2 separate regions of the Homo sapiens genome follow, and region 2 is linked to region 1. Evidence: promoter capture Hi-C in 16 types of primary human blood cells and fetal thymus (Javierre and others, 2016). All regions are on one chromosome and are shown on one strand. Each heading gives the region's core, a stretch centred on a gene start or on the middle of the fragment in contact. The rest is flanking DNA. Distances are from core to core; before and after follow the strand shown. Region 1 holds the start of CKAP2L (cytoskeleton associated protein 2 like). Region 2 has its middle 2.9 kb from the start of TMEM87B.

Evidence for each region. Contacts are between HindIII fragments. The CHiCAGO score rates a contact against its expected background, and 5 or more counts as called.
Region 2: a fragment that was not itself captured here is called in contact with the fragment with the promoter of CKAP2L in region 1 in 1 of 17 cell types (fetal thymus); the score reaches 7.4 in fetal thymus.

The regions. Positions count from the first base shown.
Region 1 is chr2:112,760,829-112,768,688 of GRCh38, reverse strand. It overlaps CKAP2L (cytoskeleton associated protein 2 like), which reads left to right and starts at 4,080. Exons shown (of 9, transcript NM_152515.5): 1 at 4,080-4,127; 2 at 6,120-6,186. The coding sequence starts at 4,091. RefSeq lists a silencer at 3,701-3,860 and an enhancer at 4,311-4,450. The HindIII fragment of the contact is 4,243 bases long and covers 551-4,793 here.
Region 2 is chr2:112,049,972-112,054,705 of GRCh38, reverse strand. No RefSeq gene overlaps it. Among named protein-coding and RNA genes, the nearest start is that of TMEM87B, 2.9 kb to the left of the region's middle. RefSeq lists silencers at 1-195, 396-445. The HindIII fragment of the contact is 755 bases long and covers 2,830-3,584 here.

The DNA.
Region 1 (7,860 bases), core at 2,831-5,330:
AGTCATCAAGGAAATACAAATAAAAACCACAATGTGATACCATTTCACAACCACTAGGATGGTTGTAATTTAAAAGATGGACAATAACAAGTGTTGTTGAGGATGTAAAGAAACTGGAACTTTCATACACTGCTGGTAGGAATGTAAAATGCTGCAGCTGCTTTGGAAAACAGTCTGGCAGTTCCTCAAATGGTTAAAGATAGAATTATCGTATGACACAGTAATTCCTCTCATTAGGTATATACCCATGAGTGTTGAAAACATATGTCTACACAAAAACTTATACATGAAAGTTCATAACAGCATTATTCATAATAGCCAAAAAGTGGAAAGAACCTAGATGTCCATCAACTGATGAATGGCAAATAAAATATTGTATATCCGCACAATAGAATACCCAGTCATAAAAGAATGAAGTACTGACACATGCTATGTGGATAAACCTTGAAAACAGCATACTAAGTGAAAGTGAAACTTAACCAATAGTCCCATAGACTGTTCTTTCGGATAAACATAGAAATTGACGCTTCTGGTCTTAAAGCTGGAAGCTTGTATTTGTTTTGTTTGAGTTCCTTCCTGGGGAAAAGACTTCAGGCCTCTCAAAAAAAGTATCAAAGAACTGAAACTCGCCAGATCACCACATCCAGGCAATGAGACTTTGGACCACTCATTCATCAGGATTGCTTCCTTGCCCCTCCCTGGTTCCTGTTTTCTTACGCATTGTTACATTTCTTCCCTGCTATCCAAACCCCTGGTTTTAGGTCAGGGAGATGGATTTGAGATTGAGCCCCCATCTCCTCAGCTGCAGCACCTGACTAAAGCCTTCTTCCTTGGCAATACTTGTCATCTCAGTGGCTGGCTTTCTGTGCAGCGAGCAGCAGGACCTAGATCAAACCCATGATATTTTGGTAACAAAAGAAGCCCATCAGAGACCACAAATTGCATAATTTCATACATATGAAATGTCCAGAAGGCAAATCTATAGAGATGGATAGTAGATTCATGGTTTCTAGGGGCTGAGAGGAGGGGAGAATGGGGAGTGACTGCTAATGAGTATAGGGTTTCTTTAGGGGGTGATGAAAATGTTAGAAAATTGAATTGTACACTGTAAGTGGGAGAATCGTACGGTATGTAAATATCTCAATAAGGCTGCTAGAGTAAAAATAATAATAATCAACTAGAGAAATGAGAAAGAAAGGTTGGATTCCCAGACAGAGAGGAGTATGGAAAGGAAAAAACAAAGTGTCTGGATAACACTGAGCAAGGGGAGAGTAGTGTGGGCTAAGGCTAAGGGAGGTGGCTAATGCTGAGGGAGTAAAAGGCCAAGCCCGCAGGGGCTTATAGGTCATTAGCCTGAGAGCAATGGAAAACCGTTAAAAGCCACCAGGATTGTCCTGGTGTGGTGGCTCACACCTGTAATCCCAACACTTTAGGAGATGGAGGCAGATGGATCGCTTGAGCCAGGAGTTCAAGACCAACCTGGGGCAACATGGCAAAACCCCATCTCTACAAAAAATACAAAAATTACCCAGATGGGTGACTGAAGTGGGATGATCGCTTAAGCCAGAGAGGTGGGGGCTGCAGTGAGCTGAGATCATGCCACTGCACTCTAGCCGGGCAATGGAGCCAGATCCTTCTAAAAAAAACAACACCAGGATCATGGAAAGCTACAGTGGATACTTTGATGAATGAGTTAAGAATTTAATTTATTTATTTATTTGGAGACAGGGTCTTGCTCTGCCTCCCATGCTGGAGTGCGGTGGCATGACCACAGTGCACTGCAGCCTTCAACTTTTGGGCTCAAGTGATCCTCCCACCTCAGCCTCCTGAGTAGAAGGGACTACAGGTGTGTGCCACCATGCCTGGTTAATTTTTGTAATTTTTTTTTTTTTTTTAAGAAACGAGGTCTTGCTATGTTGCCCAGTCTGGTCTCAAACTCCTAGGCTCAAGCAATCCTCTTGCCTCAGCTTCACAAAGTGCTGGGATTGATTACAGACATAAGCCACCATGCTTGGTAGAGTTGAGAATTTTTAAACCTGCCTAGCTATTTTCCCACATTTTGTGTCCTACAAAATAGACCGTCAAATACCCAAAGGATGGAAAAAAACGAGGCAGAACTGGCCTATGTTGCTCCAAAGGACTAGGACCAGTAAGCAAGGAAGCTCATTTGAGTTCATTTTAAGTTTCCTAATAAGCAGGGGTCTCCAATAACAGGACAGGTAAGGCAGCTCACCAACACCAGCAGTATACCTGCAAAGGTGCAGTACCTACATGGGGTCTGTGGAATACTCCAGCACTGCGTGGGATATCAGGCAAGGTGACTTCTACAACTGACATGCATTCAACCACCTAGATTCTACAAAGACCAAAACAAAACCGCCTTCACTTTTCTGAAACTGTTGGTGAAGGAGTCCCTTTCTCAGTCATTAACAAAAATAATGATCAGTTTTCCTATTTTAAACATTTAATACACTATTGAAAATATCAAAATGCATAAATCCAGAAACCCTGGCTCTCTTCCAAACTCCCTATTTACGGCTAAAGAGAAGGGCTGCTGCAGTGGCTTCATGCCCTGCTGAGTACCCAACTGGTAAGCTGAACCTGGCCAACAGGTGCCCAGATATGACTGCCCCTCCACACACGACTTCTCCAGCATCCATGGAAGAGGAACCTTCATACACAAGGAGCCAAAAGCATTTTCCAGACCTCTTTAAGAAACTGGAGAATAGATGAAACAGGACAAACTTCAAAAGAAAAAAAATTTAGGATTAAAACAAGGGGAATGAAGTGTGTCTAGGGATTCAGGACAACGAGGCCTGCGATCTCCTAGTAACTAGGAGAAACTAGGCCTGCGTTTCTCCGTTAGCCTTATGGCCTTATAGTCAGCTGATCAGGTGAAATCGAAAATATACCTTGAACAAGAGATCACCGTGAGAGGAGTAAGGCAGTTTCTCAAAAAATTAAAAATAGAATTGCCGTTTGATCCAACAATACCACTTCGTGGTATATACCCAAAAGAATGAAAAGGAGAGTCTCAAAGAGTTATTTGTGCATTCATGTTCATATTATTATTCACAATAGCCAAAAAGTGGAAGCAACTCAAGTGTCCGGAGAGGGATGGACCAAGAAGCAAAATGTGGCATCTCCACACAACGAAATGCTATTCCCCCTTAAAAGGAAAGGAAATTCTGACACATGCTACACATGGATGAACCTTGAATACTTTATGCTAAGTGAAACAAGCCAGTCACAGAACAAATACTGCATGATTCTACTTATATGGCACCTACAGTTGTCAAATCCATAGAGACAGAAACTAGAATGGTGATTGCCTGGGGCTGGGGGAGGGAGGAGTGCGGAGTTAGTGACGGGTACAGGGTTTCATTTGGGAAGATGAAAAAGTTCTGGAAAGGACAGTAGTGGTGGCTGTGCCACAATGTGAGGGTACTTAATACCACTAAACTGCACATTTTTGAAAAATTTAACACTTTAAAATGGTTAAAATGGTATATGTGATGTTATGCATATTTTACCACAATTAAACGAGCCACCCTGCAGTACTAAGAACTAGGAGCCTTTAGATGCATAAGACCCATATGTCCTCTTTATAATATTATTTTTTCACAGCTCCTGTGAGTCTGAGACTTTGAAAGGACAGAATCAGGTAGCGGCCCCAGCATCCTGGGAGGACCGCCCTGTCTCTCCGCCCAGGGACTCCCGGCGCGCCAACCCCAGCTGGATTCAGCGTAACCGCCCCCCAACCACCAGCCCGGCTGAGGCCCCCACGGAGGGTCCCACGCCCACTCGGAGGCGCACTCACAGGCGCACTCAGAGGCGGGCGGCGCCGCGCCCCGAGGAAGCCGCCCTCAATGCCGAGGTGCGCTGCACGTTCTTCCAATCAAAGGGCCCCAAGGTCGGGTTCTCAAGGCCAGAGCCAACCGCAAAGAGCCTATTGCCTGTTGTCCCGCCCTCCCGTGCTGACGACTAGCGAGTTTCAAACCCGCAGGAGCCAATGAGGACGCGTGGACGCGCGGCACGCCGGTCCTGGCTACAGGCGCGGCGTTTGAAGAAAAACTGTCACTGAAGAGTCATGGTGGGGCCCGGGCCTACCGCTGCTGCCGCTGTCGGTGAGTACGACCGCTGTTCCCGTTATTCTCAGGCGTTGGAACACGGCCGGGGAAGTAGGAGGCCACCGAGTGAGTTCGTCCCGCGGGAGGTGCCCGTCCGCTCGCCTGCCTAAGTTTCCCCTGGGCGTTTTCCATCCCGGGAGCGCAGACGGGACCCCCAGGTAGACGTCTGGGTCCTGGGCGGGGGAGGCTGTGCGCAGGCCCAGATACCTCACGGGCGTATTTCCAGAAAGCCCTGCAGCAGCCTTGCAAAGAGATGTCATTGTCACCACGTTCCGGATAAAGAAACTGAGGCCCCTTGCTCGGGTTTTCACCAGCAGTGGGAAGCTGCGCGCTGTTTTGATCCACATTTGGCTCCAGGCAGAGCCGGGCGTGGTCCTCTGTGCCAGGAGGCGGGGTCTGGCCGAAGCCCGGGTCTCCTGCCTCTGGCGGGGCTCTCACTCCACACCTCTCAGCCTGCGGTGGTTAGAAGTTGATTGGTTAAATCTGCACCCAGGGCTAAGGCTTCTGCGTTCCCTAATCTCTTAGATGTGCTTGGAGCCCTTTCCTACCTTTCAAAATACTCCTGCTCAGATGCCACTTTCTCCAAGATACGCACCGTTGTTTTGTTTCATCCATTATTCCTGTTGATGCCTACGAGGTCCTAGGCACTTTACATAACAAGCTTTAAAGATGGCATTTCTGTCCGCCTTATAGGCTTAGCAGCAGCAAAGTTTGCTAATTTGCTAGAAGTCACGGAGGTGGGACTCCAACCCCCTATGTCAGCCCCTACGCTCTACATTGCCCGCCAAGCTGTCTCTAAGGATAGATACATGAGCATCAGAGAGCAAAACAGGGCAACTCCGTTCAGATGAGGTTAAGAGTCGTTTGGCACCCCTGTCGTCTTTTTGTCTTCCTTCACATCATTATTTACTTTTAACCTTTTCTAGCCACCTACTCCCCTCATTTATGCCCTACCTCTGAACTCCCATACTTCTTTTCGTCTCTTATGGCCCTTAGATTTTACCTTATACTGTAATTGTTGCTGTGTTGATTTTATCTCCACTACTAGTTTGAAAGTTCTTGAAGGCAGAAATTATTGACTTGTCATCCCCTCACAAATGGCTTGCGTAGAAAGTCACCATAGTATAGGTGTCTGCCGTGAGCAGACCGGGCGTATTTTATCCTTAGTACCAACAAAGGAAGCCATATAAGGGTTTGTGGGTAAAAATCATCATCCCTGTAAAAAAACAAAAGACGTAAGACCAGGCCTGGCTCACCAGCTCAGGTGGGCCAGTAACAGAAATTCTTCAAAACAGACTGTTGTAGCTGAGAACAGTGGCTGTGAGCTCCAGGGTTAGAAAAGCCTGTTTTCAAGTCCTGGAATTGCCACATATTAGCTGGGTAACTTTGGGCATGACATTTACTCTCTCTGAATTTCAGATTGCAAAAACTCATTGGATTGTTTTGTGGATTGAAAGCAATAATGTAAATTTAGGCCGAGTGCTTTGACTTACGCCTGTAATCCTAGCACTTTGGGAGGCCAAAGCAGGAGGGTCACTTGAGCTCAGGAATTTGAGACCACCCCTGGCAACATAGTGAGATCCTGTCTCTACAAAAAATTTTTTTAAAATTATCCAGCATGGTGGTACACGCCTGTATTCCCAGCTACTCAGGAGACTGAGGTGTGAGGATTGCTAGAACCTGGGAGATCAAGTCAACAGTGAGCCGTGGTTGTGCCACTGCCCTCCAACCTCAGTGACAGAGGAAGACCCTGTCTCAAAAAAAAAAAAAAAAGTAGTAAGTTTAAAGAACTTAGTGTAGGCCTGGCATATAAATGATATTGTTGATGTTGATGTTAGCTTGAAGGCACATTTATAGGACTAGGGATTTTATAACATTATGTTGCAAAGGCAAAATCACTAGAGAAAAGTGTCATCTTTTAGAATATTAATGAACTGGTTAAAATCTTGAACTAAAGTTATGTCGTTTGTTTGCTTGCCTGTGTTGCAGAAGAGCGGCAGAGAAAGCTTCAGGAGTACCTTGCAGCCAAGGGAAAACTGAAGAGCCAAAACACCAAGTGAGTTTATCTGTCCACAGTTACGCAAGTTTTGTTGCCTTCTTTGTACTAGCAATTTAAAGCCTTTTTGAAAAATGTCCCTTTTGCTTAGAGTCTACTCAGACTGCACTGGGATTCTATGATAACGCAAAAAGAGCATTTCAGTCCAGGCATGACAAAAACCCCTGGGCAGTGCTTAGTCCATTGGCAAAGCTTTATGCATTATTACTGTGTGAATCTCCAAAGGAAGGAGGGAAGAAGGGTCAGTATTACCTACCATGCTGGAAGCTTTGCCTGTTTCTGCTTTTTTTTTCTTGGGGAAGTTGATTCTCATGAAGGCAGTTTTTGGTCAAGAACTTGAATGACCATGGTTCTGGCATTTCTTGCTAAGGCAGGAGAGCCAGTTACAATCAATCCTCCGTAGCAGAGTGATACCCTCTGCTCTTGGGTCATTCTCTTAGCATTTACTGTTAAGGTAGACAGAACATGTCCACTTCATTTTTATCCTTTGTAGATTCTTACCATCTTTGTCGTGTTATTTGTCCTTTCTTAGCATTAATTAATTTTTTCCCCATTTGAGTTGCTAAGTATTTATTTGAAAATTAATTTTTACAAAGTTAGCTTTCACCCTTTATTTTATCTTGGGTGTTTACTCACCTCTATTTCCTTGATTAAATGAACCTAATTCACTTATTCAACAAATATTTATTTAGTACCTATAACATCTCAGTCACTTCTGATGCTAGAGATAATGGCGCTTAACAAGACAGACATTCCTGCCCTCCCAGGGCTTATGCTGTAGATGGGAGAGACAAACATCAAACAAGTCATAATCAAAGTCCTTGTTAGTCTAGCAATTGTTTTTGGTCCATGCAGATTGATTCCTTCTAAATTCACCTCTGTTTTCCAATCCTTTTTCTGCATTTCCTGTCTCACTAGCTATATTTCATGTGTGTCTTGGTTTTTTTTTTTTTAATATTTCTTTACCCCCTTAAAGTTAGAAGAGATAGTATTTGAAGATACTGAAAACAAGGAAATTTTTTTTTTTTTTTTTTTTTTTTTTGAGACGGAGTCTCACTCTGTTGCCCAGGCTGGAGTGCAGTGGCGCAATCTTGGCTCACTGCAAGCTCTGCCTCCCAGTTTCACGCCATTTTCCTGCCTCAGCCTCCCGAGTAGCTGGGACAACAGGCATGTGCCACCATGCCCAGCTAATTTTTTTGTATTTTTAGTAGCGATGGGGTTTCACTGTGTTAGCCAGGATGGTCTCTATTTCCTGATCTCATGATCCGCCTGCCTTGGCCTCCCAAAGTGCTGGGATTACAGGCGTGAGCCACTACGCCCAGCCGGAAATTTTTTAAAGAAGCAGTTAATGGTTTTATTTGGCATTGTGTCTTCGGTGTCTGGCACATTGCAGTGCTCCAGGAATGATGTGTGAATGAGTAAGACTATATAAATATGAAGGAAACACATATATCTCATTAATATTGTGAGAATGCTAGATTTATGTATAGACAGTCTCTGTAAGGATCACAAGGCAAAAAAAAAAAGAGTAGGAGCAGTTGGTGGTCTCCAAGGGGGAGGATACAGAACTAAAGAAATGATGATAAGGAGACTTTATTAAATATAATTTTGAATTATTTTGCCATTACAGAAATTCTAATTATTTAAAATTCTATTCATAATTTTTAATCACTG
Region 2 (4,734 bases), core at 1,958-4,457, 710 kb after region 1:
TGGAGGCGGGGCGGGGCTCGGGACCAGGCCGGAGTGCGGAGACAGAGTGCCCCAGGAAGGAAGAGCTTGGGGCCAGGCCGAGCGTGGAGGCGGGGCCGCGTGGAGGCGGGGCCGCGTGGAGGCGGGGCCGGGATTTGGAGGCAAGACCCGGCGGGGAGGCGGAGCCTGAGCGTAAAGGCGGGGCTGGTCAGGGAGATGGGGTCGGAGTGGGGAGGCGGAGTTGAGGACCAGGCAGTAGTGTGGAGACGGGGCTGGACGAGAAGGGCTTGGGGTTAGGCCGTAGTGGGGAGGCCAGGTTGGGCGAGGAAGCAGGGCTTGGAGCAAGCCCTAGTACGGAGACGGGACTGGGCGGGGAGGCGTGGCCTGAGTGAGGAGACGGGCCTGAGTGGGGAGGCGGGGCCTGAGTGGGGAGGCGGGGCCTGTCTGGGAGATGAGGCGCAGTGGGGAGGCGGGGCTCGCCGCCAGCGAGCGCGAGTGTCAAGGTCCTGGAGTCGAATGCCTAGTAAGTGCTACGGTTGGAGTGCAGTCTAGAGTTCTGTTCCCAGGGTGTCTCCATTTCTTGCGTCTTCTACACTTACCCCTGCCTCGACCCTCTCAGCTGTATGGAAACCGTTCTTTAAATTCAGGGAATGTGCCAGGAAAGTGCTTTGAGGCCAAGGCCAGTTGAACACAAGGCATTGTGTTGTGAAGGTTAACGTTAATAGGACAGTTAATACTTTTCAGAACAAGTAGTTACTTGACTGGCTTAAAGCTCAGAGGGGTCAGGGCTTGGATCCGTCTTATTGTGTACCTTCCCTTGCATTTTCGGCTGTAAGCTGAATACATGTTTTGCTGTCAAAGAGAATTAGTTCATTCATTATCAAATGTAAATAATATCCAGCAAGGGAATAGAATCCTGTGCTAATATTGTTATTAACGTAGAATAAGATCGATTTATAGTCCAAAGGCCTTGGCTGCTTTACCAGTCACCAGTAATTATTGAGGACCTACTATACACTAGAGATTGCATGTGCATCTTCCCAGTAAGCAACGTGATCAGTTCTGTTTAGGTCAGAATAACTGTAACAGGACCACAGGGGAACATCCACCAGAGATTTAGGAAGTAAGTGAGGGACAGAAGGAGAGAACAATACATGAAATTTAAGTTCTACAAGAAGAGTTAAGGGCGAGTTACCTGTGGGAGTGAGGGGTAAGTCTGAAATCGTTTTAGTTACGAGAGAACTGGAGGAATGGAAAGATCTTCCAGATGACTGGATGTTGGTGTGAGACGGAGAGTGGCAAAGCTGGGAATATTTAAACAGTACCAAAACATACAGGCATTCCTAAATTAAGTTAGGCAGATGGCACCTTTAGTTAAGAACACTGGAGAGGCAATGATTTTTTGTTTTGTTTTGTTTTTGAGACTGAGTCGCGCTCTGTCGCCCAGGCTGGAGTGCACTGGCGCGAACTCGGCTCACTGCAAGCTCCGCTTTCCTGGTTCACGCCATTCTCCTGCCTCAGCCTCCTGAGTAGCTGGGATTACAGGCGCCAGCCACCACGCCAGGCTAATTTTTTTATATTTTTTAGTAGAGACTGGGTTTCACCGTGTTAGCCAGGATGGTCTCGATCTCTTGACCTCATGATCCGCCTGCCTCGGCCTCCCAAAGTGCTGGGATTACAGGCGTGAGCCACCGCGCCCGGCCCCAATGATGGTTTTTAAGTAAGGATGAGCTGATCAGAAAGATCGTGTTGGTTGTCAAATTGGGAAACAGGAGCATAGGAGAGCCAGGGTGACACCATTTTAAAAATAACTCCATCTTAAAACTAGCAAGGTACATTTCTTGCCAGTCACCACCCATGGTCGTAAGATGTTTACAGTGGCTGGGCACGCCTGTAATCCCAGCACTTTGGGAGGTCAAGGCGGGTGGATAGTTTGAGCTCAGGAGTTTGAGACCAGCCTGGACAACATGGCGAAATCCTGTCTCTACACGAAATACAAAAATTAGCCAGGTGTGGTGGCGTGCCTGTGGTTCTGGCTACTCAAAGAAGCTGAGGCGGGAGGATCACTTGGGCCTGGGAGGCGAAAGTTGCAGTGAGCCCTGCACTCCAGCCTGTGTGACAGAGTCAGAACCTGTCACAAACAAAAAAAAGAAAGAAAGAGAAAGAAAGCAAGAAAAGGAAAAAAAAAAAAGGAAAATGAGGAAGGTTAGAATGAACTATAATGCTGGCTTGCAACTGATGATATCAGTGTGAACTCATTTTTAAAATTTAGTTTTATAAATAGATGTAGATATGTGTGTGTGTGTGTGTGTTTATATTTTCTTGCACTGATTCCCAGGAGGACCTAGAAGCAGCGACACCCCAGTAGCAATAGGTACATCTAGCACCAGATCTTGCTTTATAAATATCATTCTCCACTAAAATAAACCAGGGATCCTTGGAGAAGTGGCTGAGCCCAGGAATGGAATAGAGAAATTCATGATGAACTTGAGAATCTTGTTTTGCCAGAAAGTAAGGAAGTGGGTAAAAAATTATGAGGACACGTCAAAAAGGCATAGGAGCCAGTTTGAAGGAGCTCCCTTCCACTTACCAGATCTGGGACAATTTGGTCACCAAAATGATAGTAGTGGATTGTAACTCATTGACTCAAATAGGAATCCATGAGTCTATACTAACATAAATAAATAAATGATTACATAAATAGGAAAGAAAATCACTTTCTTACAGTTGGAAAACTAATAAATGCAGAAGGAATAACAAATTTAAAATATCACCATTTGGCAACTATCACAATTAAAATTGATTCAGAAAGAATCATCAATTCTATTCTAAAGTTAGTTGGCAAAAGCTTCATGAGGAAATATCTTCCAAAAATTACTTATTAATTACAAAGAGAAAAACAGTAATTATACAGTGGAGATACCTGGCAGACACCAACTTAATGATCAAGGTTAATCCCACAAGGATTGGGACAAACAGACATGATATGTATCATGATTTGATTAACTGAAAAGAAACAGCATGACTTCTGTGATATTCCTGCCAAAAATGCATGCCCAAAATGCAAAAATGCATCTAATCAAGCTATTCAAGGAAATGAGGAAAAAATTCACATACTTAAATCTAATCACAAGGAAACATCAGACAACCCAAATTGAAAGACATTCTACAAAGTAACTAGCTGGTATAATTTACCAAAAAAAAAAAAAAAAAAAAAATATATATATATATATATATATATATATATATATATATATATATGCCAGGTTCTTGAAACAGCTGAGGAAGTTAGAGGTTAAAGGAGACCCAAGAGACATGATAACTAAATGTGACATATAGGCCTAGCAGTCTGGAGCCTACACCAGAAAAATTGTTTTTGCTATTAAAATTCTTTAGACAATTGGTGAAATTTGAACAAGGACTTTAAGAAAATGGTATTGTCAATGTGAATTTCCTGAATGTGAAAATGGCACCGTTATCACACTAAGAGAAGGTCCTCTTTCTAGAGAAAAGCACACTGAAGTATTTAAAGGTAAGCGGGCACCACATCTGAACTTATTCTTTGGTGGTTACAAAAAACTTTTTATATATTATATATATAAGCTTTATATATGTATAACATGTATACCATCTCTATCTATCTATCAAGATAATCTAATAAAACCAATTTGAATGAAGAGTATGCAGGAGTTCTTTGTATTCTTCTTGCAACTTTTCTTTGAGTCTGAAATCATTTCAAAAGAAAAATTTCCAAAACTAAGAAAGAAGGGGGTAATCACTCTGTGGTTCTCCCTGTATATATGTTAATAAAATTTATATGCCTTTCTAAGAAGGAGGAGGAGGAAGGAAGAAGGAAGGGAGTATCTCACACCTCTCACATCCCATATAGGGATCCAACTTGGTGTCCTCCACAGCAGATGGAAAATTTATGATTACTTGGTAAAAATAGATTGATAGTCAACTGATTGCCAGAGTGCTTTACTCATTCTCTTTTGAGTCTTATGGGATTTAGAAAAACAAACAAACAAACAAACAAAACAGCTACCATATAATTTTTAATTTGAAAAATTAAATCCTGGAGCAAACAAAAATTGTCCAAAGAACAAATAAGGAAAAATTTGGCAATAGTTGACTGTAAGCTAGAACTGAAAGGCCCCCATCAATAGACCAGTCCTTCCTCTAGTGGAGTTTATTGCAGCTGTTATAAAACTGAATCACAGTTCAGAGGTTGCTGTGCAGGGAAATGAAAAGGCATTTGAGAACACGAAGTATCATGAGATCCTGAATTCAGTGCTATTAATGAGAGACTTTGGGGTATGGCTAACACCAAAAATGAATAGATGCTATTTTTGCATAAAAAGCTGTACATTTGATTCATTGCTTTTAATTAAAATATTGGATTGTATGAGAAATTTTGAGAGTATCATATAAAGCACCTTTTCCACATACTTCCATTTGCCTTCATTTAACTTTTTCTTCCCTAAATCAAAACTGATTTTAGTTTTGAGTTGAGGCTTATGGATATGTAAACATAAAGGTTGTTTTTCTGATATTTCCTCTTCATGTGCAACTTATATATCACATAAATTGTAGGGACCAGCCCCACAGGGTCAGTGGGTCTCTCCCCGTGTGTGGAGATGAGAGAGTGTAGAAATAAAGACACAAGACAAAGAGATAAAAGAAAAGGCAGCTGGGCCCAGGGGACCACTACCACCAAGTCGCGGAGACTGGTAGTGGCCCCGAATGTCTGGCTGC